7 separate regions of the Homo sapiens genome follow, and all the other regions are linked to region 4. The links are contacts of gene promoters, found by promoter capture Hi-C in blood cells and fetal thymus (Javierre and others, 2016). All regions are on one chromosome and are shown on one strand. The core of a region is centred on a gene start or on the middle of the fragment in contact, and the rest is flanking DNA. Distances in the headings are between cores, read along the strand shown. Region 1 overlaps KIFAP3 (kinesin associated protein 3). Region 2 has its middle 11 kb from the start of SCYL3. Region 3 overlaps SCYL3 (SCY1 like pseudokinase 3). Region 4 holds the start of PRRC2C (proline rich coiled-coil 2C). Region 5 overlaps SELL (selectin L). Region 6 overlaps KIFAP3 (kinesin associated protein 3). Region 7 overlaps PRDX6 (peroxiredoxin 6).

Region 1 (3,415 bases), core at 155-2,654, 1.4 Mb after region 4:
GCTAAATAAACCCCTTTTCCTTATAAATTACCTAGTCTCAGGTATTGTGTTATAGCAACATAAAATTGACTAATTCAGTATTCCATTTTATGGATATACCACATTTTGTTTGTTTATTGCTCATCTGGTGGTGGACATTTGGGTTGTTTCTACCTATTGGCTATTGGGAATAAAGCTGCTGTGAACATTACTGTACAAGTTTTTGTTTGAACACTTGTTTTGTATCTTTTGGTGTATACCTAGGCCTGGAATTGCCAGACCATATGGTAATTCTATGTTTAATTCATTGAGGAACCACTAAAGTGTTTTCCCTAGTGACTGCACCATTTTACATTCCCACCAGCAATGTATAAGAATTCAGTTTTCCGTATCCTCACTAACACCTGTTATTTTCTGTTCTGTAATTATTACTATACTAGTGGATATCAAATGGTATCTTATTTTGGTATTGATTTGCCTTTCCCTAATTACTAATGACATTGAGCTTTTCATGTGCTTCTTGGCCATTTGTCTTTATTCTTTGGGAAAAGGAGTTCTTTGTAATAGAACCTTGTCAGATACATGATTTACAGATACTTTGTCCCATTCTGTGGGTTTTCTTTGCACTATCTTGGTATGTAAAACTTTCATATGCAAACATTTTTAATTTTGGTGAAGTCTAATTTATTCTTTTGTTGCTCATGCTTTTGGCATCGTTATTTAAGAAACCACTGCTAAATCCAAGGTCATGAAGGTTTGTCCCTCTGTTTTCTTCTAAGAGTTTTACAGTTTTAGCTTTTACATTTAATATCCTTGATCCATCTCGAGTTAGTTATTGTCTATGGTATATGGCAAGGGTCCATCTTCATTCTTTTATATGTGACTATCTAGTTGTTCTGACATCATTTGTCAGAACAAATGTCAGAAAAGAACAATTGACTGTTCTTTTCCTCCATGAATGGTTTGGGCAATTTTTTTGAAAATTAAATGACCAAAAATGTTGGGGTTTATTCCTGCACTCTCAATTATATTTCATTGATCTATCTGTCCGTGTGCTAGTACCTCACTGTTTTGATTACTGAAGCTTTGTAGTGAGTTTTGAAATCCAGAAGTGTGAGTCCTCCAACTTTGTTGTTCTTTTTCAAGGTTGTTTCAGCTATTTAGGGTTCCTTATATTTCCATTTGAATTTTAGGGTTGGCTTTTTCATTTCTGCAAAAAAAGCTATTGAAACTTTGGGAATATAATGAATCTATAGATCACTTTGGGGAATATTGCCATCTTAACAATATTAAGTCCTTCAGTCCATGAACATGTGATTTCTTTTCATTTAGTTCATATTAATTTCTTTCAGCAACTTTTTGTTTTCAGTATACAGTTGTTCCTTGGTTACGTTTACTCCTGAGTATTTTATTCTTTTTGATGCTATTGGAAATGAAGTTTTCTAAATTTCCTTTTCATATTTTTCAGCTCCAATATGTAGAAAAACAGTGGATTTTTTTGGTGTGTTCTGATCTATTCTCCAACTTTGCTGAATTTATTAGCTCTAGCCAGTTTTTTGTGCCATTTTTAGAATTTTCTATATATAAGATTATGTCTTCTGCAGATAGAAATAATTTTACTTCTTCTTTTTCAATCTGGATGCCTTTTTATTTTTTTTTCCCATGCCTCATTGCTCTGGCTAGAATTTCCAGTACTATGTTGAATAGAAGTCAGGAAAGTGGATAAACATTCTTGTCTTGTTCCTGATCTTAGGGGGAAAGCTTTCATTCTTTCACCATTGAGTATGATATTGGCTGTAGATTTTTCATATATGCCCTTTATTATGTTAAGGGACTTTTCTTCTATTCCTAATTTATCAAGTACTTTTATCATGAAAAGATGTTGGGTTTTGTCAGATGCTTTTTTCTGCATCGATTGAGATAATCATGTACTTTTTTTCTTCATTCCATTAATGTGGTGTATTGTATTGAAATGCCCATGTGGCCATGTTGCGTGGTCCTTTTAATATACTCCTGTATTCTGTTTGCTAGTATTTTGAGGATTTTCACATCGACATTCATAAAGGGTATTGGTCTAAAGGTTTTCCTGTAGTGTCTTTGTCTTGCTTTGGTATCAGGGTAATGGTGGCCTCATGGAATGAATTAGGAAGTGTTTCCTCTACTGTTATATCTTTTGGAAGAGTTTGAGGGGTATTTATGTTAATTTGTCTTTAAATGCTTGGTAGAATTCACCAGTGAAGCCATCTGGTACTGGACTTGTTGAAAGGTTTATGATTACTGATTCAATCACCTTACTTCTAATTCTGTTCAGATTTTCTGTGTCTTTTGAGTCAGTTTTGGTAGTTTGTGTGTTTCTAGGAATTATTCTTTTTCATGTAGGTTATCCAATTTGTTGGTGTTCATATTATTCTCTTGTAATTTTTTAATCATCAAAAGAGCAGCAGTAATGTCCCACTTTCATTTCTGATTTTAGTAATTTGAGTCTCTTCTTTTCTTTTTTAGTCAGTCTAACTAAAAGTTTTCCAAAAATGTTTGTTGATCTTTTCAAAGAACTAACCTTTGGTTTCATTTTCTCTATTCTTTTTCTAGTCTCTGTTGCTGCTTTTTATTATTTCCTTCTGCTAGCTTGGGGTTTTGTTTGCTCTTCTTTTTCTAGCCCCTTAAGGTGTAAAATTAGGTTATTAATTCAAAATCTTTTATTTATTTTTTTAAATAGAGCGTCAGTATAGAGTGTCTTATTGTGGATCTGTTTGAGTTTATCTTTGAATTTCATTGAGCTTCTTGGATGTGTAAGTTTGTCTTTGGTCTAATTTGGGAAGTTTTTGACTGTTTTTTCTCCCAGTATTCTCTATGTTTCTTTCTTCCTCTCCTTTCATACCCTCATTATGCATATGTTGGTATACTAGATGGTGTTCCATAAGTCTCTTAGGTTCTGTTTATTTTTCTTCATTCTGTTTTCTTTCTGTGCCTCAAAATGGACAGTTTCATTTGACATATCTTCAAGTTTGCTGATTCTTTTCTCTCTCTGCTCAGATCTGCTGTTAAAAACCCTGTAGTGATTTTTTTATTTCAGTTATTGTACTTTTCAGATCTAGTGTTTTTGTTTGGATCCTTATGATAATATATTTTTAAACTATTTATGTGTTGAGACATTGTGTTTCTCCTTTTTCTTAGTTATTTGCACTGGTTTCTTTTTGCTCTTTGGACATATTTAAGACAGTTGATTTAAAGTCTTTGATAAGTCCAGTGTTTGTGCTGTAGCATGGACAGTTTCTGTTAATTTTTTTTATTGTGAGAATGAGAATGAGTTTCTTGTTTCTTTGCATGTTTCATATTTTGTTTTGTTGAAAACTGGGTATTTTGAATATTATGGTATCCAAAGGAAAAAAAGAAAAGAAAAAAATACTCTTCAGATCTTTGTAGGTTGACTCAGTGT
Region 2 (3,512 bases), core at 826-3,325, 1.6 Mb after region 4:
TTTTGCTTGTGGATGGGATGTAAATAACTGTGGCAGAAGGAGATATGTAACTAAAAAAGGTGACCATGGTATTCTCCAGCTCCTCTCATCAAAAGATGGACTCTATTTCCTCACTTTTTGAAACTGGGCTTCCCTTGTATCTCACTTCTACCAATAGAATGAGACAGAAATGATGAGTGAGTTCTTACAGGTTCAGCTCTTTTTCCTTCTTCTCTACAATTTACTACTGTTTCAAGTCTGCTGTGTAATCAGCACTGCACTAGTACATGAATATGAAGCTGAACCCCTCAGATTATATCTATTACAGCTTGCACCAGGTGGGACATGGAGCTGCCCACTAAGGCTTAGACTCCAGGAGGGTGAGTCAAGGAAACATCACCTTTTGGTTAGCTTAACTGTCAGGGTTTTTTCTTTTTTCTTTTATTTTTTTTTTACCAGAAGCAGAAATACTTTTTATTCTTTTAAAAATGTTTGTTATTTTTATTTTTTATTATACTTTAAGTTCTAGGGTACATGTGCACAACATGCAAGTTCATTACATATGTATACATGTGCCATGTTGGTGTGCTGCACCCATCAACTCGTCATTTACATTAGGTATATCTCTAATGCTATCCCTCCCACCTCCTCTCACCCCACAACAGGCCCCGGTGTGTAATGTTCCCCTTCCTGTGTCCAAGTGTTCTCATTGTTCAATTCCCACCTGTGAGTGAGAACATGCAGTGTTTGGTTTTCTGTCCTTGCGATAGTTTGCTCAGAATGATGGTTTCCAGCTTCCTCCATGTCCCTACAAAGGACATGATCTCATCCTTTTTTATGGCTGCATAGTATTCCATGGTGTATATGTGCCACATTTTCTTAATCCAGTCTATCATTGTTGGACATTTGGGTTGGTTCCAAGTCTTTGCTATTGTGAATAGTGCTTCAATAAACATATGTGTGCATGTGTCTTTATTGTAGAATGATTTATAATCCTTTGGGTATATACCCAGTAATGGGATGGCTGGGTCAAATGGTATTTCTAGTTCTAGATCCTTGAGGAATCGCCACACTGTCTTCCACAATGGTTGAACTAGTTTGCAGTCCCACCAACGGTGTAAAACTGTTCCTATTTCTCCACATCCTCTCCAGCACCTGTTGTTTCTTGACTTTTTAATGATCACCATTCTAAGAGCTTCTTTATTTCCAGTCCTGGGCTGAAGGAATCTTATTGTTGTGTTCCAGCTTTATTGAGATATAATGGACAGATTAAAAATTGTATGTATTCAAGGTGTACACTGTGATGACTTGATAGATGGATACATTGTGAAATGATTATCATAGCCAGGCACGGTGGCTCACAGCTGTAATCCTAGCACTTTGGGAGGCCGAGGTGGGGGGATCACTTGAGCCCAGGAGTTCAAGACCAGCCTGGGCAGCAAAGAGAGATCTCATCTCTACTAAAATTCTAGAAAAAATTGGCTGGGCATGGTGGTGCATGCCTGTAGTCCCAGCTAGTTGGGGGTGGGGAGAACGTGAGGGGTGCTGAGTTGGGAGGATCGCTTGAATCTGGGAGGTTGAGGCTGCTGCGAGTCCTGATTGCACCACAGCACTGCAGTCCAGGTGACAGAGTGAGGCTTTGTCTTTAAAAAAAAAAAAAAAAAAAAAAAGATTATCATCACCACAATTAGTTACTATTTGTGTGTATGTGGGGTGAGGAAGGGGGAAGCCACTTAAAATCCACTGTCTCCAAATGTCAAGTATACAATGCAGTATTAGTAAGTGTAATCAGTGTGTTGTATGTTAGATCCCCAGAGCTTAGTCATCTTAAACTGAAAGTCTATACCCTTTGTCCAGCATCTCCCAATTTCCCCCACCCCACAGCTTCTGGCAACCACCTGCTACTCTCTGCAAAGGCATCAGTTTTAATTTGGTGATTTTGAAAAGGAGAACCACACAAGTTTGGAGGGTTCATACAAACTCCAGAAATGGAGTGAAATAGTTAAGAAAGGGACGCTGAGCCTGTGTTAGTCCATTCCCACATTGCTAGAAAGAACAACCTGAGACAGGGTAATTTATGAAGAAAAGAGGTTTAATTGATTCACAGTTCCACAGGCTGTATAGCAAGCATGGCTGGGGCATCCTCAGGAAACTTAAAGTCATGGTGGAAGGGCGAAGGGGAAGCAAGCACCTTCTTCACATGATGGAGCAGGAAAGAAAGAGAGCAGGGGTAGGTGCTACACACACACTTTTAAACAACCAGATCTTATGAGAACTCAGTATCACCAGGAGAACACAGGGGAAATCCACCCCTATGATCCAGTCACCTCCCACCAGGTCCCTCCCCCAACACTGGGAATTAGAATTTGACAGGCGATTTGGGTGGGGACACAGAGCCAAACCACATCAGGGCCTATCAATCATTTCTCACTGAAATTACCAAGTCTAGCTACTTGTTTTTATTTTTTAACATTTCTAATGTCTTTATGAGTATCCTCAATTTTTAGTTTTCTCAAATTTGACTTTTAATAACACAGAATATGTTATAAGGCACATGCTGTTGATAGAGTTCCACTTTGTTTCAACTGTTAATGACTTGATGAATGTGATATTCATCTCCCTTCATGTGTACCTGTGTACATGCTCGTACACAGTGATATGGTTTGGCTCTGTGTCCCCACCCAAATCTCATGTTGAAGTATGACCCTCAGTGTTGGAGGTGGGACCTAGTGGGAGGTGACTGGATCATGGAGGTGGTTTGTAATGATGTAGCGCCATCCCCCTAGTGCTGTCTCGTGACAGAGTTCTCATGAGATCTGGCTGTTTAAAAGTCTGTAGGGTCTCCCCTTTCACTCTTTTCCTCCTGCTTCTGACATGTAAGATGTGCTTGCTTCCCCTTCACCTTCTGCCATCATTTTAAGTCACCTGAGGCCTCCCCAGAAGCAGAAGCCTGTACAACCCACGGAACCATAAGCCAATTAAACTTCCTTTGTTTATAAATTACCTAGTCTCAGGTATGTTTTTATAGCTGAGCAAGAATGGACTAATACACATAGCATGGTCTTTTTTTTTAATTGAGAAATAATACAGATACCATAAAAGTACCTTTTTAAAATTTACATTTAAAATGTACTTTAAAAATATAATTTAGTGGATTTTAGTATATTCTAAAGGTTGCACAACCATCACCATTATCCAGTTCCCAGAATGCTTTCATCACTCCAAAAGGAAACCTCCTACCCATTAGCAGTCATGCCCCCATTCCTCCTTACCCCCAGCCCCTAGCAACCATGTATCTGCTTTCTTTCTGTGTGGATTTATCTAACCTGGACATTTCATATAAATGCACTCAAACAATGTGTGGCTTTTTGTGCCTGGATTCTTCCACTTAACATGATGTTTTCACAGCATCCATGTTGTCACACGTATGAAAACTTTATCCCTTCCAATGGCCAAATAATATTCCATTGTTTGGAATACATTTTGTTCAGCCATTCATTGGTCCAGGCATTTTTTAGGCGGCAATAAAAGTA
Region 3 (3,315 bases), core at 304-2,803, 1.6 Mb after region 4:
TCTCTCATACTGACTTTTTTTTTTGAGATGTAGTCTCACTCTGTTTCCCAGGCTAGAGTGCAGTGGTTCGATCTTGGCTCACTGCAACCTCTGCCTCCCGGGTTGAAGTGATTCTCCTGCCTCAGCATCCCACGTAGCTGGGATTACAGGCACGCGCCGACACACCCAGCTCATTTTTGAATTTTTAGTAGAGGTGGGGTTTCACCATGTTGGCCAGGATAGCCTCTACCTCTCGACCTCGTGATCCGCCTTCCTCAGCCTCTCAAAGTGCTGGGATTACAGGCATGAGCCACCGTACCTGGCCCATGGTTGACTTTTTAAGAAATTATTTTTTGCCCTTCATAATCAGAATCCAGTGCTCTTACGTGGCTTCTGGGCACTATCCACTCAGAAGAACTTCAGAAGTATCCCCCATGCCTCAGGTATGATGGACCCACCAGATGGAATGGCCAGCTACTTGCTCCCCACCACACCTTGCAGACTTCACGCTCTCCTTTTTCCTTGGATGTTAATAACCATCCAACCTGCCATTCTAAACTAATTATCTGCCAAAATCTCTAGTCTGAGCTCCAGATCTATATTTTCACTTACCTATTGAACATTTCCACCTAAAAGTTTTATCAGTACCTCAAATGCAAGCTCTACAGAATGGAATTTTTATTCCTTTCTCTTTCTGCATTTTATTGTTAGTTTATGATCTAACCTTCAGATAGTGGACATTTACAAAAAAAAAAGCATCTGCATTTTGTCTTAGATTTACATCTTCAGAGAAAAAGGAATAATATTTTTCCCTGAAGATCTTTGTTCTCTAGTTTAGGCATCTTGGTTATTTTGTTTACTTAACATATTTAACAGCGTGAAATTATGGCTTTGTCTCATCTAAAAGCCTGCAGGTGGATTTGGGCTGTAATGCTGAGTCAGTTAACTTTGCATAGTTCTCAAAGTGAAATAGCGAATCAGAGGCAGAACAACAATAAAAAGTTAAGCCTCTGAGGCTTGAATGAATTCTCTGGATAGCTGAATCATAACTGATTCCTGATAAAGGGGAATCATTTATATTTAGGGAAAGAATCTCATACTTAAGATCCCTGTTTGGGTGTAGAAAAATATCATCATTGATAAATTATATAATACTATTCATATTTAACAATAAAGGTCCTTACTCAGAACCCTCTTTCAGAGACCATCACCTAGGACAGTAAATGGGATGTAATAGGTATTCAATAACTTTGGGGAAAGTGCTTTCAAGACACTCATTCAAAAATAGTCATCTTTCTCTACTAGGGCAAGAGCCATTTATTTGCTCAACTGATGTTCATTGAAAAATATCCTAGTTACCCTTAGCAAGTATGTCTTGTTGCTATTCTTTAGAGCAGCAGAGGCTTGAATCAAAAAATGTCCTATTTGATTCTGAACTGCTAGCCTTTCCTGTGAATCTGTGTGCATAATTTATGCTTAATATTAAATGTACCAAAGGAGAGTGAGAAATAAGGTTCTTGCTAAGTTAAGTGCCTTGTTCAGAAACATGTAATGAGTCATTTCTTCTTCTCCTTCTTTATTAAACAAACAAGTACTCACTTTGCATCAAGAAAATTTCTAGGCATTGTAGAGTAAAACAATAAGCAGAAGAGAACATGAAAGATTTGGTTTGAAAATTATTTGAAATGATTCTTAAATGAAAATATGAGGGAGGCTACATAATTTTATACAGAAACCGTAGCTCAAAACACACCTGTAGGCCAGGCAAGGTGGCTCATGCCTATAAGTCCAGCACTTTGGGAGGCCGAGGTAGGTGGATCACCTGAGGTCAGGAGTTTGAGACCAGCCTGGCCAACATGGTGAAACCCCATCTCTACTAAAAACACAAAAATTAGCCAGGCATGGTGGTGGGCGCCTGTAATCCCAGCTATTCGAGAGGTTGAGGCAGACGAATCATTTGAACCTGGGAGGCGAAGGTTGCAGTGAGCTGAGAACACGCCATTGCACTCCAGCCTGGGTAACAAGAGCGACACTCTGTCTCAAAAACAAAACAAAACGAAATAAAAAAACACTTGTAAAAAATTATTCCCAGTTAACTGCACTCATTTAACCAACCTGCTAACACAATTTTTGGTTTATCTGGATCTTTGCTGTATTTATTAGTTTGTAATTGCTAGTTAAAGAAATTTTTTCTTCAATATTTTCTTAATTATTTTTTATTGAATTAACTCGAGGGTAACAACTTTCTTCCTAAGAATAAATAAATAAACCCTATTGGAGCTATTCCCAGAGTTGGCAAAATTTGAGATTATTATAAGAAAATAAAAGAAATTGGAGGCTGGGCACAGTGGCTCACACCTGTAATCCCAGCACTTTGGGAAGCCGAGGTGGGTGGATCACAAGGTCAGGAGTTCAAGACCAGCCTGGCCAACATAGTGAAACCCCATCTCTACTAAAAATACAAAAACAATTAGCTGGGTGTGGTAGCGGGCGCCTGTAGTCCCAGCTACTTGGGAGGCTGAGGCAGGAGAATTGGTTGAACCTGGGAGGCGGAGGTTGCAGTGAGCCAAGATTGTGCCACTGCAATGCAGCCTGGGTGACATAGCGAGACTCTGTCTCAAAAAAAAAAAAAAAAAAAAAATGTAATTGGAGAAACCAACCCACTGAGAAGATTTTCCTATGACCCTGCCTGGAAGTAGTTTAATAAAGTTTGAGGCATCTGATACAAAAATTATACCAATGCAGGGTATGGATTCTTATGCTAGCCCATAGTCCTCCAAGAAGGTGTTCAGTATTCACTGCTTATTTATGAAAATGCCACCTGGTAATATATTGAGGGTTATCTTCCAAATGAAATATTTCATCACTCTCCTCCCAATCTGATTGGACAGGGCTTCCTCAGTGATTGTATAGGGTAGACCCTAGAGCTTTAATATCATGTTAGGACCTAGAGGACATTATGTTAAGTCAGGTGTCCCCAACCCCTAGGCTGCAGACTGGTACTGGTTCGTGGCCTCTAGGAACAGGATGGCACAGCAGGAGGCTGTGGGCAGTGGGCACGCGAGCATTACCATCTGAGTTCTGTCTCCTGTCAGATCAGCAGCAGTATTGTGTCCGGAATTGGTGGGTTCTTGGTCTCACTGACTTCAAGAATGAAGCCGCGGACCCTCGCGGTGAGTGTTACAGTTCTTAAAGGTGGCGTGTCTGGAGTTTGTTCCTTCTCATGTTCGGAGTTTCTTCCTTCTGGTGGGGTTCGTGGTCTCGCTGGCTCAGGAGTGAAGCCGTGGACCTTCGCGGTGAGTGTTACAGCTCATAAAGGCAGTGTGGACCCAAAGA
Region 4 (3,415 bases), core at 120-2,619:
CAGTCAAAGCAGCATCTTAATTACCAATATGGGAGGTGAAATCTAGTTTTGAAAAATGGTGGGGTTAGGCTTGGTAGGTGCTTAGTATCACCCTATTATTTTTATTTGCAGGAGTAAGCTATTAAGTACTCAACAATCAAAAAATCCTCCGATTCTTCTGGTGCATTCCAAATGAAAATCTTACAGCAGAGCCGCCTACTGTACAATTCTAAGTACTCTAACGAGGTATGAATCTATGAACCCAGGCTGAAAACCAGCCAATGCGGAAATCCAGGTAGCTTTATAAGCCAGCAAACATCAGGCATGTCAGACCCTCAAAAGATCCCAAATAATGTCAAAACACACATACATCCCTTTAAATTAAAGGTACTCCTCTCATGCAAAGGAAGGAAGACTCTATCAATGTCTCTATAGTGGCCCCATGCCCTTTTCTTCAGTCCTAAAACGGGGCCTTTACCCTGACACCACCAATATCAACGCTATCTCAAAGACAGGGAGCTACCGAGATTCACCACGCAAGTTAGAGGATGGAGCGGCCTAGAGTGTGAAAAGACTACCCAAATCCTCCTCCGGAGTTGGGCAGCACTTCCCTAGCGGAAGTAGGGTTGGTCTTGATTCCCCGAAGAGCCTCTCATCTAACCAGGTCTTTAAACCAGACCCTCCCATACATTGCTCATTGCAAGTCCCACCCTCACTACACAGGAAGAGGTAGACAGTGAAAGCCCCGGCTGAGTCCTTCAGTTGTTTGGGGAAACGCATACCCGACACTAAAAAAAAAAAAAAAAAAAAAAGACTTCACGTCCGCCAGTCCAGGAAGACGGAAACCCCCTTCGCTTACCCGGCAACATGCGTAATCCCCTCGCAGGGCCAGGACTGGGGTCTAGGTGGGAGCAAGACAGACCGGTCCAGAACTCCCGCTGCAGACCACATGGGGCGGGTCTGACTCCGGTTTCCCGCTCCCCAAGCTGGAGGCCGACTTCCCCAGACACAGAGATGATGGTAACCAAACAGAAGGGAAATGCCCGGACCCAAGGCCCTCTCCACGCGGCCCCCTAGCCTCCGGGCGCCAGGGTCTGGGTGCGCTCCCACGCCCCAGGCCGCACTCTGGCCGTTCCCGATGGGGCCCTCTTTGATCGCGGCCCCCACACCCTCGCTTTCCTTACCGGTCAGGGTGAGTGTCAAGTTTGCGCACTTCGAGGGTCTCCGCCGATCTCTGATCGAAAGAAGGGGGAGGGAAAGCTGGGGTTAAAGGGGTGGCCGGAAGGGCCACCAGACTGGAAAAGCCGAAGCTGCGGATGGACAAACCGCCAAAGCACTTTCGCAGCTTTCCGAGGGGGAGCGAGCGAGCGAGAAAAAGAAGCAAGATGGCGGCTAGCCAGCCCCTACGTACTACGTCATGACGCTAAGTACGTAGGTCAAATCTCCGCAAGACCACACTCCTGCGCAGAGACGGCCGGATCACGTGAAGCCTCCGTGGCGGCCCAACCCCGACAGAGGGTGCTGGCGCTTCCTGCTGGACGGAGGGAGTTTCTGCAATCAGAATTATCTTTTCAGGACAAAGCTTGGACCTGAGACCTTTCTAAGAAGTCTTGAATTGACCACGTTTACAAGTTGATAATAAGCCTCAGTGAAATGAGCACTCTTATGTCTGGTGGGTGGATGTGTAAATGGTTGAACCAGCAGTTCGCCAGTATGTCTCAGTGAATTTGGGGCAAGCTGAGAAGTCTTGGTGTATTGAAAAGTTATCACAGAGAGTGAAAGTAAAACTAGTGTGAGGAACAGAGTAGCATGGGCTGCTGAGAGCACTTTTTAAGTTTCTAATTATGGATGTGAGATAAGCCATTCAGTTTATTTATATGATCTCTCCATCACAGTGTTCAGCTCCGTTGAATAGTAAGATTCACCCATGCTGGCTTTTACTAGGCAAGTGTAACATAGGCAGATGAGTGTATCTGGAAGTGGGAGACTACAATGATGATAATATTATGTCAGAACAGATGGCGAATGTTTAGTAAATGGTATCTTTTGTCCTCTTTGTGAACTACCTATGACATATTTAAAATTCAAGGATTTCTTACCACTTCTGGTCTGAACGATCTTCCCCGCCAGTAGCTGGTGTATGTCCATGGAATTGTCACTGTAGCAATGTTAGAATAAATGAAATAATAAAGAGAGGTAAATTATGAACACCTCCCTCCCCACTAATATTAATTTGAAGTAGAAAAGTCTGGACTTGCTTGGTGGCTCATGCCTGTAATACTAATACTTTGGTAGGTCAAGGCAAAAGGATTGCTTGAGACCAGGAGTTCAAGACCAATCTGGGCAACATAGTGAGACCCTACCTCTGCAAAAAAATTAAAAAGAAAAAAAGCTAGCTAGGCATAGTGGCACATGCTTATAGTCCTAGCTACCTGGGAGGCTGGAGGCAAAAGGATCACTTGAGCACAGGAGGTTGAGGCTGCAGCGAGACTCTTTCTCGAAAAAATAGAAAAGAAGAAAAGAAAAAGTTTTTTTATTGATATAGGGTCATTGCCAGGGGAAAGCCTACTGATCATCCACAAGAGGACAAGGAAGCATTACTTTAGTGAATTTCTACAACCTTCTAGGATCTGGTCTATAGTGTCCTGGTCACAGAAACATCTTTCTTTGTTTTTTTGGAGGCAGGGTCTCACTTTGCTGCCCAGGCTGGAGTGTAGTGGCATAATCACAGGTCACTGAAGCCTCAACCTCCCAGGCTCAAGCAATCCACCTGTCTCAGCCTCCCAGGTAGGTGGGACTACAGGTGCTTGCCACAAAACCTGGCTTTTTTTTTTTTTTTTTTTTTTTTTTGCCAGTAGAGACGAGGTCTTGCTATGTTGACTGGGCTGGTTTCGAACTCCTGAGCTCAAGCAAGCCTCCCGCATTGGCCTCCCAAAGTGCCGGAATTACCGGCATGAGCCACCACGCCCAGCCAAATCATCTGTCTTGAGCAATGGAGAACAACTTCAGCAATCAGATGAAATTACATTAACCAAGGTCATAAGACTGACACGTATGGCCGGGCGCGGTGGCTCACGCCTGTAATCCCAGCACTTTGGGAGGCCGAGGCGGGCGGATCACAAGGTCAGGAGATCGAGACCATCCTGGCTAACACGGTGAAACCCAGTCTCTACTAAAAAATACAAAAAAAAATTAGCCGGGCGTGGTGGCGGGCGCCTGTAGTCCCAGCTACTCAGGAGGCTGAAGCAGGAGAATGGCGTGAACCCAGGAGGCGGAGCTTGCAGTGAGCACAGATCCTGCCACTGCACTCCAGCCTGGGCAACAGAGCGAGAGAGCGAGACTCTGTCTCAAAAAAAAAAAAAAAAAAAAAAAGACATGTATTAAATTATTAATTTCTAAGAGCTTTAATTTATACACCTGAACACTCAACAACTGC
Region 5 (3,331 bases), core at 71-2,570, 1.8 Mb after region 4:
ATTTATCATTTGGCTGGCAAGGAGATTAAAAAAAGGTATGTGAGTTTAACTTCACATGAAAAGAACACAACTTTAAAGTGAAAAAGAAAAAAAAAAGAAACCCACAGGAAATTAAATGTGATAGATTCAACACAAGCAGGATGCCAAGCTTTACATTCTAGAGCCATCAGTCCCTGGAGACATGTAAATCAGCCCAGGACACACCTTCATTAAAACAGGTTGGCTGATTTTCGCTTTTCATCTGATAAACTTTTAAAAATGTCTATTACCTTCAAGGCAGCTTGCTAGGCTGATAACAACTAAGTGAGATATTCTAATGGTTCTTTGCTCTTATGTAATTCTTTAATACTTTTTTTTTTTTGAGACAGAGCCTCACTCTGTCACCAGGCTAGAGTGCAGTGGTGCAATTTCAGCTCACTGCAACCTCCGCCTTCTGGGTTCAAGCTATTCTCCCACCTCAGCCTCCCAAGTAGCTGGGACTACAGGAGCGTGCCACCATGCCCAGCTAATTTTTTGTATTTTTAGTAGACACGGGGTTTCACTGTGTTAGCCAGAGTGGTCTCGATCTCCTGACCTCGTGATCTGCCTGCCTTGGCCTCCCAAAGGGCTTGGATTACAGGTGTGAGCCACCACGCCTGGCCTGCTCTTAATTAATTCTGAAAAAATGACACACTATCTCTGTCCTCTAAGAGCCTACATGCCTTGGATTTCAATGCTACAATTCCACTAGGAAGTGGGTCTAATGTCCACTAAGGTTTCAAGGCACTGCTCCCAAATACCTGACCTCTTCAAGAGTCACCTGGTTCCCAACACATGGGCATTGCATTAACCCTGGGAGAAATTCCCATGTATTCTCCCAAGTATCTATTCACCAAGGCCACAGCTCTAACCAAATGCACCATATATGCTTTCCAACCATCCGTCACTGGAGAGGAAAAGAGAAGGAGGACTGCCTTGAGAAGTTAACATCTGCTGCCCAGATTATCACTCCCTTTACCTTAAGGCATGAGTGTGTCTCAGCTTTAAAGTGTGAGCAACCCACTAGCCTGCAGCAGGCCTTGGGTGTATGGTGCCACATTTGGCCAAACTCACCTGGAAGAACCATTCAAGGCTGTAACATTCATGGACATTGGGCAGCTTTTAAGATATACCTGTTTTGGCCAGGTGTGGTGGCTCATGCCTGTAATCCCAGCACTTTGGGAGGCCGAGGCGGGCGGATCATGAGCTCAGCAGTTCAAGACCAGCCTGGCCAACATGGTGAAACCCTGTCTCTACTAAAAATACAAAAATTAGCCAGGCGTGGTGGCGGGCACCTGTAATCCCAGCTACTCGGGAGGCTGAGACAGAAGAATCACTTGAACCCGGGAGGCGGAGGTTGCAGTGAGCTGAGACCGCACCATTGCACTCCAGCCTGGTGACAGAGTGAGACTCTGTCTCAAAAAAAAAAAAAAAAAAGATATACCTGTTTCAAGTTCAGGGATGATCTCGAAACAATTGCTAACCAACTGCTCTGTGTTGCCTTTCTGTGGGCTCAGTTGATTGTCATTTTAATTTTCCTTCCATCAAATTAGTTAGTACGTATTCTGTTCACTGAATATGGTATGTAAAGGTTGCCCCCTGTCCATTTACACTGGCAATTACAAAAATATTATTTATCAGTCCCTAATTGCGTGCCACTCTGATCTTATCTTTCATTTAAATTTGAGAATAGTGGGCGCTAGGTAAGTTTTCTAACCAATCCAGAAAGACAAAGTGTGTGAGGGGGGTGGGGATTGTTGATATGCAAGAACTTCATTAGCTATGTATAACCTGAGAGCACTGAGCAGTTAAAATGTCTCTGCCCTTGCTATTAGAAATTCTGTGCTGATTGAATCTCACTATCTTATAGTATTATACAGTACTAAGTACTATACAGTACTAAGTATAAGTATCAAGTACTGCATTAAGGCAAAAGAAGAATGACAGTTTTCTCCAACCACTGATTATTCTTTCCATTGAGACTTCAAATCTTGACCCCGGTTGTCCTGTCTTTCTTCCTACCTTGGGCGATGATGGCAGAACTGACGGATAGAGAACAGGGTGGGTTATTACACACTGCCCCCTGGGATAAGGTGGCTATTGTCTAAATAATTTTAAGGACTTTGGGGCTGTAAGTCACCTTAATAAGGAAGCTATTTATTTCCGAATTCTAAAATCTTTTAATAAGTGTTTGTAGAATCAAAAGAATAGAATCAAACTCATTTGCATGTAGTGAGGGGTTAGCTGGCTAAGGCTGTTTTATAAGCAAGGGTAAAAAAATTAGAGGGGTTGTTTTTAAATTTTTTACCTTGGAGTCATTTCTGTACAAGATCTCAAACCGATAACTTGAAAACTGCTGTGGGAATCAGTGTGGGGCAAACAGGAAACAGATAACGGGCAGTTAGGCTAGTTACAGTTATGCCAACAAAGAAAACAGAAGCCCCAAAAGATCACTGGCTTGGTAGGAAGCTTAGGGTATCTTTAAGATAACATTAAATAGTCTTCATCTGTGGGCCAGGCACCTTGGCTGTCACCTCTAATCCCAGCACTTTTGGAGGCTGAGGCAGGAGGATTACTTGAGCCCACGAGTTCAAGACCAGCCTGGGCAACATGGCGAAACCACATCTCTACAAAAATACAAAAAATTAGTCAGGCATGGTAGCATGCACATGTAGTCCCAGCTACCCAGGAGACTGAGGTGGGAGGATCACTTGAACCCAGGAGGTCAAGGCTGCAGTAAGCCATGACAGCACCACTGCACTCCACAACAGAGTGAGGCCCTGTCTCAAAAAAAAAAAAAAAAAAAGTCTTCATTTATAAAACAACATCTTCCATTTTCACCAACTTACAAATGATTCTGCTTTCCAAAGATTTTAGTTGTAGGTTGGTCCTTTAAAACATGAAGAGTATTTTTCCTATGGAGGCAATGGTAGAAATAATGGCTACATTCCCAGGCTAAATCTAAGACAAAATATAGTTAATGGCATTTACAAGGATAAAAGTAAAAAGTCATAAATCTCTATGTGTGTGTTTAGGTGTGTGTGTGTGTCTATGTGTGTGTGTATATGTATATATATACACAGAGAGAGAGAGAGAGAGAGAGAGAATTTATAGGCTTTTTGGGTTCTAATAGTTAGAAAAAGGGCACAGGTAACTATTTAGAGCATGGTAGCCAATGAAGTGACTAGAGCCTTCACCCCTATTCTTCTGTCCTCAGATGAATCTTCTGACTCTAGCACTTTGTCCCCTGCCCTAGTAGTCTTAGTATGGAGACTTTCCCTCCTTTCTTTTAGGAAAGGAATAAGGAACAGTT
Region 6 (3,473 bases), core at 390-2,889, 1.6 Mb after region 4:
ATCTTTTAAGCTACCTCTTGATTTCCTCATCACAAAATTTAGTCTCTCTTCCCATGAGATCAAAGTTAGAAAAAGTGCCTATATTTTTACCATTTCAAAATAAAATGTAGACTTAAAAATTTCAACCAACTTTGAGAAACTATAGACAGAGTTTTTATATAGAAGGACCCCAAAACAACAAATTTTGTCCAGAATCGCTCAGTACAAATGCTAACCTGAAACTTGTATTTCAGAACTTCCATTCTCCTAAAGGGCAGAGTCACTGGACCAGTATGTGTTATATGTATTTTGGCTCTTTACATTTACTCTTTAGTTCCATCTTAATACACACAAGCACGCGTGCACACAAACACACACACGCATTCACACATTTATTTAAAACCTTAACATTTTAATAGTTACTTCTAAAGTGTGTCAACTTAATCTCACTCTGAGTGTGACAGGGAGTTAGTGCCTATGTGAATATATTTTTTCATCACATTCAGTTTTTGCTATTGAGGGAAAATTATCTTTCCATCTCATGTAGTGCAAACTTAAATCTTAAATCATTTAAATATGTTTTATTTTTCCAAAGCTTACATTTCTGCATTACAAATGGTGTCCATTGATTGGAAGTCAAGCTCACTAGCATTCACTGCATGAGCTATGCATGAGCATGTTAAGGCCACCATGTTCTGCCTGGCAAAATAAATACTTTATCATTTTCCTAAGTGTTGGATAATTCCCTGACCTTTAAAAAGGACTTTGGAGAACAGATTTTCCTCTAAATAATGTATTAATAGACCAACAAGTAATTTTTTTAAAATAATAATCATGAAGTTTAACATACTTCAAGCTATCTTTACAACTCTGAAGGTTATCTTTGGGTTTCTGTTATTCCCATAGAATAAGTTGAACCAAAATTTGTAATTGTCTTGCTGTCACTCAAAAGAAATAGATATGTTTTGTAATTGTTTGCATTGAGGAATCAGAGGAAGGATTTGCAGATCAAATCTGACTAATTTTCAAATTTTGTCAAATTCCTTATCTTGTTCTTTTAATCATAGGCTTATGGTATGATTTGGCCCTGCATGAGAGTTCACTGATATAACTCAAACACATGTTTTTACTAAAAGTGGAATTAGTCCTGTATCTTCATATGAAAAGACATTATAAACAGCAAAACTCACTTTACTACAGTTTTATTTTTATCATTCCCTAGCAATATATTACTGATCATTGCTAGCATGTAAAATCTTTTCATATTTTTGCTTAAGAGCCATATATAAGTAATTTATTAAATAAAACTTTTCTGATTTGATTCTTCCACTTTGTTTCAAATAGTACCTACTGACAGAGGTTTCCCATACTTTTAACACACATTGTTAGAAGTATTTTATTATATACACTTTTAATGGCTCTATTAACCTTAAAAAAAAAAGTTAATGATATCCACCTAAATCACTATCCCTGCTAGGAAGAGAATCTTGGTGGTATAAAAATGTAGGCCTCTTAATCTGCATTGTGGATGTGTGATGAAAAACATAGCTTATCATTCTTTTTTTTCTTTTTTAGCCTTGGAATGGATGGCTTTGGCCAACCAGTTGGCATTCTTGGACGCCCTGCCACAGCATATGGATTCCGCCCTGATGAACCTTACTACTATGGCTATGGATCTTGATAAAGTATCTGTTTCCATGTGTAATCTCAGCTTAGAAGAAATCTGTGTGGGTTGGGTTAATTTTGGATCTTTGCCTAATAATGCATGTTGATGTTATTGTGGGTCTGTGTTTGTTTTTATTTTTATATGTTGTTAGCTGCAGATTAACCCCAGCCCCTCTGTCTTCTGTTAAGTACAGTTGATACTGACATTGTTCACTCATCAAACCACATCTTGATGCTAAGTAACATTTCCCATGAGCCACAAAACTGAATGCTGAAAAGCTACTAGACTGGAAAACAAACACTGCATTATGTATGTTAAGTGACTAATTTAATTTCAATTAAAAAGCGTAAAGTGAAAATGAATAAGTGAAAGTCATGTGTTTATATTTCACACATTTCACTACGAATTACATGTTAATATAGGGTGCGCGTGAATTTTATTTTTTCTCCTTTTTTTCTGCTTGTAAACTCTTGAGTAATTTGTATAATATATGCTACCTTTAAAATTTATAAAAAGAACATCACCTTCATATTCCATGCCATGTGCCTGAAAGTTTCCTTCCCAAAGTTTATTAACTATGAGTTTTCAATTAATAATGGAACATATGTCATAAGTTATTTATGGTTATAGTCTCTTTGGTGGTTTTAATTCATATCTTCCTAGTTGTAATATAGAAATCCTAGGACAAGTAGTATACAAGACAAGCAGTGATACAAGATTAGCATTTGGCTTTTAACTTTTATTCTTCATAAATTTAGTATCTAAAGCATGGGAAAGCTAATTAAAAGTCGCATTAAGGAAAACTAAGGAACAGAATATTTCACTCACTTGGGTACCCAGTTCCCAATTGTTCACTTGTTCTTATAACGTACATTTAGATAGCAAGAAATGGAGAGACATTATATAATTCATAATGGGTTTTGAAAATAGTTCAGTGTTTTCATATTAAAAAAATGTTCAATTCTACTTGAAAAGCTGAGCAAAGAAATAACCATAATAATAACTATAATCAGAGATAGTTCCATGATCACCTGCTATGGGAGAAAATATGAAGCTTCAAAGGGAATACATAGATCAAAGATAAGACTTCTGTTCTTGAATTTAAAATCTCATTGATCTAACTACACTATTTATGTGGCTTAAATTACATTTTAAGCAGAAGATAACATTTGGAAAAGGCCTTTGAAATAACTCATTCCATCTACTTATTTAAGAAACCAATCACATAAAAAATTTAAATGTAATCAACAGATATTTTCCTGACTACCTGCTATGTGTAAGGAAGTATATGATGCCCCTTAGGAGATGTAAATCTGAGGTATGTTTATGCCTTTGATCTTTCTGAAAACATACATTTATTTGTCTTAGTTTCTATTTTAACCATAAAATATTAAAGCTGGAAAAGGCCTTAGAAGCAACCCTGTCCAACTCTAATTTTTGCAGTCAAAAAAACTGGCCAGGAGAGGTTAAGTGACTTAGTCAATGACATAGGCTGTCTCTTTGCTTCCTATTCAGCAATCTCAATACTAAATAGCTTGTTTTATTATTTATCATGTGTACAAAGTATAAATACACATAAGTGACATTAATAGGAAAATGATGCAAACATCCTATAGCTTTAACTTCCCTCATGTTGTTATAAACTGCATTAGGAAGAACACCCGCCAAAATTGATAAAATTCCCAGGGCTATGCTCGCTCAATTTTACGTGCACATGCTCACTCTCCCTAATTTTGTTTTCATTAGTATAGGACTTAACAAATTTAGAAATTGTAATCTTTCCACTCAGGCTTGAACTGGCTTACCATTGCATTATTTATGAAGGAAT
Region 7 (3,492 bases), core at 329-2,828, 2.0 Mb before region 4:
ACTTTGAACCTAAGGCTTACTTGTACCTTAACCTCAAAACCAAGTACTCCATAATTTATAACTTGACCTATAATCTCAGGCTCAAAGCACATGCCAATTGATACTAACCTTGCTCCAGGCAAGATGGTCCTCAACACTGTCTATTGAAAGGGCAATCAACTTAACATTCCTCTTGGCAAATTCTGGTGCCAGCTTTGCAGCTCTGCCAAGCTCTGTGGTGCACACTGGGGTAAAGTCCCGAGGGTGGGAGAAGAGAATGCCCCATCTGAAAGGAAGAAAAACAAGGTCACAATTGAATTAAGAGTTATCACCAACATCACAGAGAATGAAAAGTCACAACTTCTGGATCAAAAACAGGCTTTCTTTTTTAAATGAATGCTTATGATGATATTTACTTTTAAGCTTTTCTGTTGAGGAGTGCTTTTCAATCTACTTACCTCCAGAGAAGCCTATGCTTATAGCCCAATTCAATCAAAGACATGAAATTCAAGATGACACATATTTAAAAAGACTAATGTTAAGGTGTTGCCTCCTTTAATAATTATGGTGCCACCCTGACTCCTTTTTGGCTAATACAATCTGTGCTATTCAAGCCAAGTAGTTCACTGAAAACACTTAATTATTTCTTCTTATCCTTTTCTACATTTTTTTCTAGCATAGACCCTGACATTCAGCTCCAATAATGGATGTCCCAGTATGCCCTGAATCCAAACAAATGCCTGACTGCAATAATAAACAAATTATGTAATCTGAAATAAATAGGTTTCTATCTTCTATTTATATGTAAAAATTAAAGTTGACACTTGGCTTCTCTGAAGCAAGTGGATATAAAATCTTTTGTAAAACCACTTTACTGATCTTACCTGCCAAACATGACACCCAATATTTATACTCTGACAAAACAATAGCACCTTCACAGTTTTACCTATCTCTTCATTTGCAGTTTCTTTTTCTTCTTTCTTCAGACCAAGCAGGTAGAATTTTGATAGCCTGCAATGTAGATTTCTACAACAGCAAATTCTTAGGTAAATACTAATATCTAAGTCATCATTGTCTAAGATTTTATAATTTTGAGCACATTTCAAGCTGTCACGAAGAAAGCTGAAGTACCATTTCCTTCTTCTTGGCAACAGAAACTACTCTTTCAACTGAAAAGGAAAATTTAACACTCAGTTCTCCACATCCCCATCAACTTAAACCATCCTAAACCAGATGATTTAGGCAGGATCCTAAACTAGTAGATAACTAAATCTAGCCTAGATGCCAAGTTGACCTTTCTGAAGTTTCCCTGAGCACAGAGAACAAGCAAAGACAAGGGCACCTCCTTCCTACTTACGGCTGCCACTCAACTCCCAAGGTTTCAAGAAGGAAAAAGATCTTCTTACAAAAAGGATGGAGGGCCCTATGGCAAGACTGGGAGGAAAGTTAGTATTTTTTTTTAAGATTGTGGAGGTGTGCACTATGTTCACTTTACTATGAAGGGCAAAAGGAAGAACATAGAGTATATCTTTTGAAGTAGATAATATCACTATGAGTAAAATCTAGGCCTTAGATTCTATGGAAAACGATCTATTTAATGGTTAGATGAGACTTAACAGAAGGTCTCCAGAAGTTGAGAAGAAATGGAACAGGGCGTTTCCTCCTCTATCGTTAAAAGGAGGATAAATTAGAAAAGTTAGGAGTTCTTTTTCCACTGTGAGTCCATAAAGACTGTTTTGCTGAATCATGCAAAAGGAACTGGTTTTAAGCCAGTTCACGTCCTTCCCTCCCTCAGAAGTGAAACTCCAGTTTACCTCATGGCTACAAATAGGATAAACTCCAAGAATGTCTTACCTTGGCCTTCCTTCCCCTCCAAGTCTTCCTACTGCTGCACTTAAGAGTAATTCAGTGACATGCTCCCATTTTCTTACCCATTTTCAAAAGACAAAAGGTTTCCTCCTTCAAGAGAATGGTTCCCACTTACTAAGCCCCAGAAGACCCCTGGAAAACACATATTTTGCTTAGTGAAGATGTACTATGAAGAAGCTGCTTCTACCACTTAAAGAAACAGCGATAAGGTAAACTCACCCAATGTAGCACCCAACCTCTTTAGTTGTTTACAATGATCAGGGGTAAGGTAGAGAAATACATTTTAATTTTTTCTTCTCAAAAATACCTGGATCAAAAATTGACAGTCTGATTTGGGATCATATACAGAATAGAAAATTGGAAAAATCAGGCAAAAATCCATGTGTTATAAACATATAAAAGGCTCAAACTTCTCTTCCCGGTAAGGTAGGGAATACTATACCTGATCCTAGGCAGACTTGTATATTAGTTAATAAATGCAGATATTTCTACCGTGTTCCTAACTATGGCTCCCTGATAAAGTACCACTTTTGATCAAATCTAGATGGATCTAGAGGCCAATAAACATTAACAAAACCCCAAAAAAGTATGGTTAGCTTAAAAAGTGACAGCATTTATAACTGTTGGCACAGTAAATACGTTTTATGCTAATATTTAATCTATACAAGCTAAGAGTTCTGGAAATAGTTTATGTTTCATGGGGATGGGGGATGAGGGCTGCAGGTAGAAATGGGAAGGAACACAACTCTAAAAATCCCAAGGATTGCTGGAGAAATATTACTACCTAGATCCTAAGTATAAGAATGGCCATAAGCTGTATTTCTAAAGTATTTTTCTGCATTCAAGGTTTGAATATTCCATTTCTCAACCTTTTTCTGGCCTAGTCCTATCTTTCACAAAGCTTAACTTTTCCCTATTCAGTGGCTGGAAAAGGGACTTAAGAGGTTATAAAGGGTTGGATAGGCATATGATGTGTAAGAATCTGTCCCTGGTTCTCTGCACAGCCCTGTCCAATCACTGATTAATTTCATAAGCCTGTCTCCCTGGATACTGTATATAAAAAGGATATAATCTGGGGAAGAACTGTTGTCAAGCCTTGGAGCCCCACAGTGTAGTGGGACCACTAGTACTCCAGAACCATAATATAACTAGACATGCCTGGAATGCTTCTGATGAAAACTAAGCAACTTCCAGTTTGCTGATTCAGGAGCTGTTAAAAAAAAAAAAGGGCAACACCGATTTACTACTCCTATCCATAATGGTAAAACTGCCAAGTCAGATCACAGGTCATCAATTTGGCTATCATCAGCAAGCTCATGTGCTAGAAGCAAGGTAGAAAGCGGAGGGGACAGTGAGGGGCAAGCCACTGGAAAACAAGAGAGTCTCAAAGTTGGGGAGTACACGTGTCCTGGAGCCTGGAACGGCCATCACTAGCAAGAATAGGCCACTCCAGCGGAACAGCGTCAGAAAGTCCTTCCCTCCAAGTGTTGCAAGTTCTGGAATCTCTGAAGGCACACCTACGCAGAGTGTTCTTGGCTCTTCCTAAAGCTGTTATCAAATCATATCTTGGCCATTGGAGGCGGCTCTGGACAAAAAGTCTTTCGGCCACCTACTTGGCAGCTAGTGGTTTTAAATTTCACATTT

Evidence for each region. Contacts are between HindIII fragments. The CHiCAGO score rates a contact against its expected background, and 5 or more counts as called.
Region 1: a fragment that was not itself captured here is called in contact with the fragment with the promoter of PRRC2C in region 4 in 4 of 17 cell types (total B cells, non-activated CD4 T cells, total CD4 T cells and 1 more); the score reaches 6.4 in total B cells.
Region 2: a fragment that was not itself captured here is called in contact with the fragment with the promoter of PRRC2C in region 4 in 2 of 17 cell types (total B cells and monocytes); the score reaches 7.2 in total B cells.
Region 3: a contact is called between a fragment that was not itself captured here and the fragment with the promoter of PRRC2C in region 4, in 1 of 17 cell types (neutrophils). The highest score is 5.1, in neutrophils.
Region 5: a contact is called between a fragment that was not itself captured here and the fragment with the promoter of PRRC2C in region 4, in 1 of 17 cell types (total B cells). The highest score is 5.7, in total B cells.
Region 6: a fragment that was not itself captured here is called in contact with the fragment with the promoter of PRRC2C in region 4 in 1 of 17 cell types (total B cells); the score reaches 8.1 in total B cells.
Region 7: a contact is called between a fragment that was not itself captured here and the fragment with the promoter of PRRC2C in region 4, in 1 of 17 cell types (fetal thymus). The highest score is 6.8, in fetal thymus.

The regions. Positions count from the first base shown.
Region 1 is chr1:170,068,058-170,071,472 of GRCh38, reverse strand. The region is part of intron 1 of KIFAP3 (kinesin associated protein 3); the gene reads left to right. Among named protein-coding and RNA genes, the nearest start is that of KIFAP3, 4.9 kb to the left of the region's middle. The HindIII fragment of the contact is 677 bases long and covers 1,066-1,742 here.
Region 2 is chr1:169,903,327-169,906,838 of GRCh38, reverse strand. No RefSeq gene overlaps it. Among named protein-coding and RNA genes, the nearest start is that of SCYL3, 11 kb to the right of the region's middle. The HindIII fragment of the contact is 5,363 bases long and covers 1-3,512 here.
Region 3 is chr1:169,883,020-169,886,334 of GRCh38, reverse strand. All of the region lies in intron 2 of SCYL3 (SCY1 like pseudokinase 3), which reads left to right. Among named protein-coding and RNA genes, the nearest start is that of SCYL3, 9.2 kb to the left of the region's middle. The HindIII fragment of the contact is 3,614 bases long and covers 1-3,315 here.
Region 4 is chr1:171,483,484-171,486,898 of GRCh38, reverse strand. PRRC2C (proline rich coiled-coil 2C) reads right to left here and starts at 1,369. Exons shown (of 35, transcript NM_001387844.1): 1 at 1,164-1,369. RefSeq lists enhancers at 816-1,564, 1,471-1,780. The HindIII fragment of the contact is 3,004 bases long and covers 1-1,563 here.
Region 5 is chr1:169,698,264-169,701,594 of GRCh38, reverse strand. It overlaps SELL (selectin L), which reads left to right. Exons shown (of 9, transcript NM_000655.5): 7 at 1-35. Among named protein-coding and RNA genes, the nearest start is that of SELL, 12 kb to the left of the region's middle. The HindIII fragment of the contact is 2,339 bases long and covers 151-2,489 here.
Region 6 is chr1:169,919,863-169,923,335 of GRCh38, reverse strand. KIFAP3 (kinesin associated protein 3) reads left to right here. Exons shown (of 20, transcript NM_014970.4): 20 at 1,555-2,007. The coding sequence ends at 1,660. Among named protein-coding and RNA genes, the nearest start is that of SCYL3, 28 kb to the right of the region's middle. The HindIII fragment of the contact is 2,125 bases long and covers 577-2,701 here.
Region 7 is chr1:173,478,099-173,481,590 of GRCh38, reverse strand. PRDX6 (peroxiredoxin 6) reads right to left here. Exons shown (of 5, transcript NM_004905.3): 2 at 109-265. Among named protein-coding and RNA genes, the nearest start is that of PRDX6, 2.5 kb to the right of the region's middle. The HindIII fragment of the contact is 2,347 bases long and covers 405-2,751 here.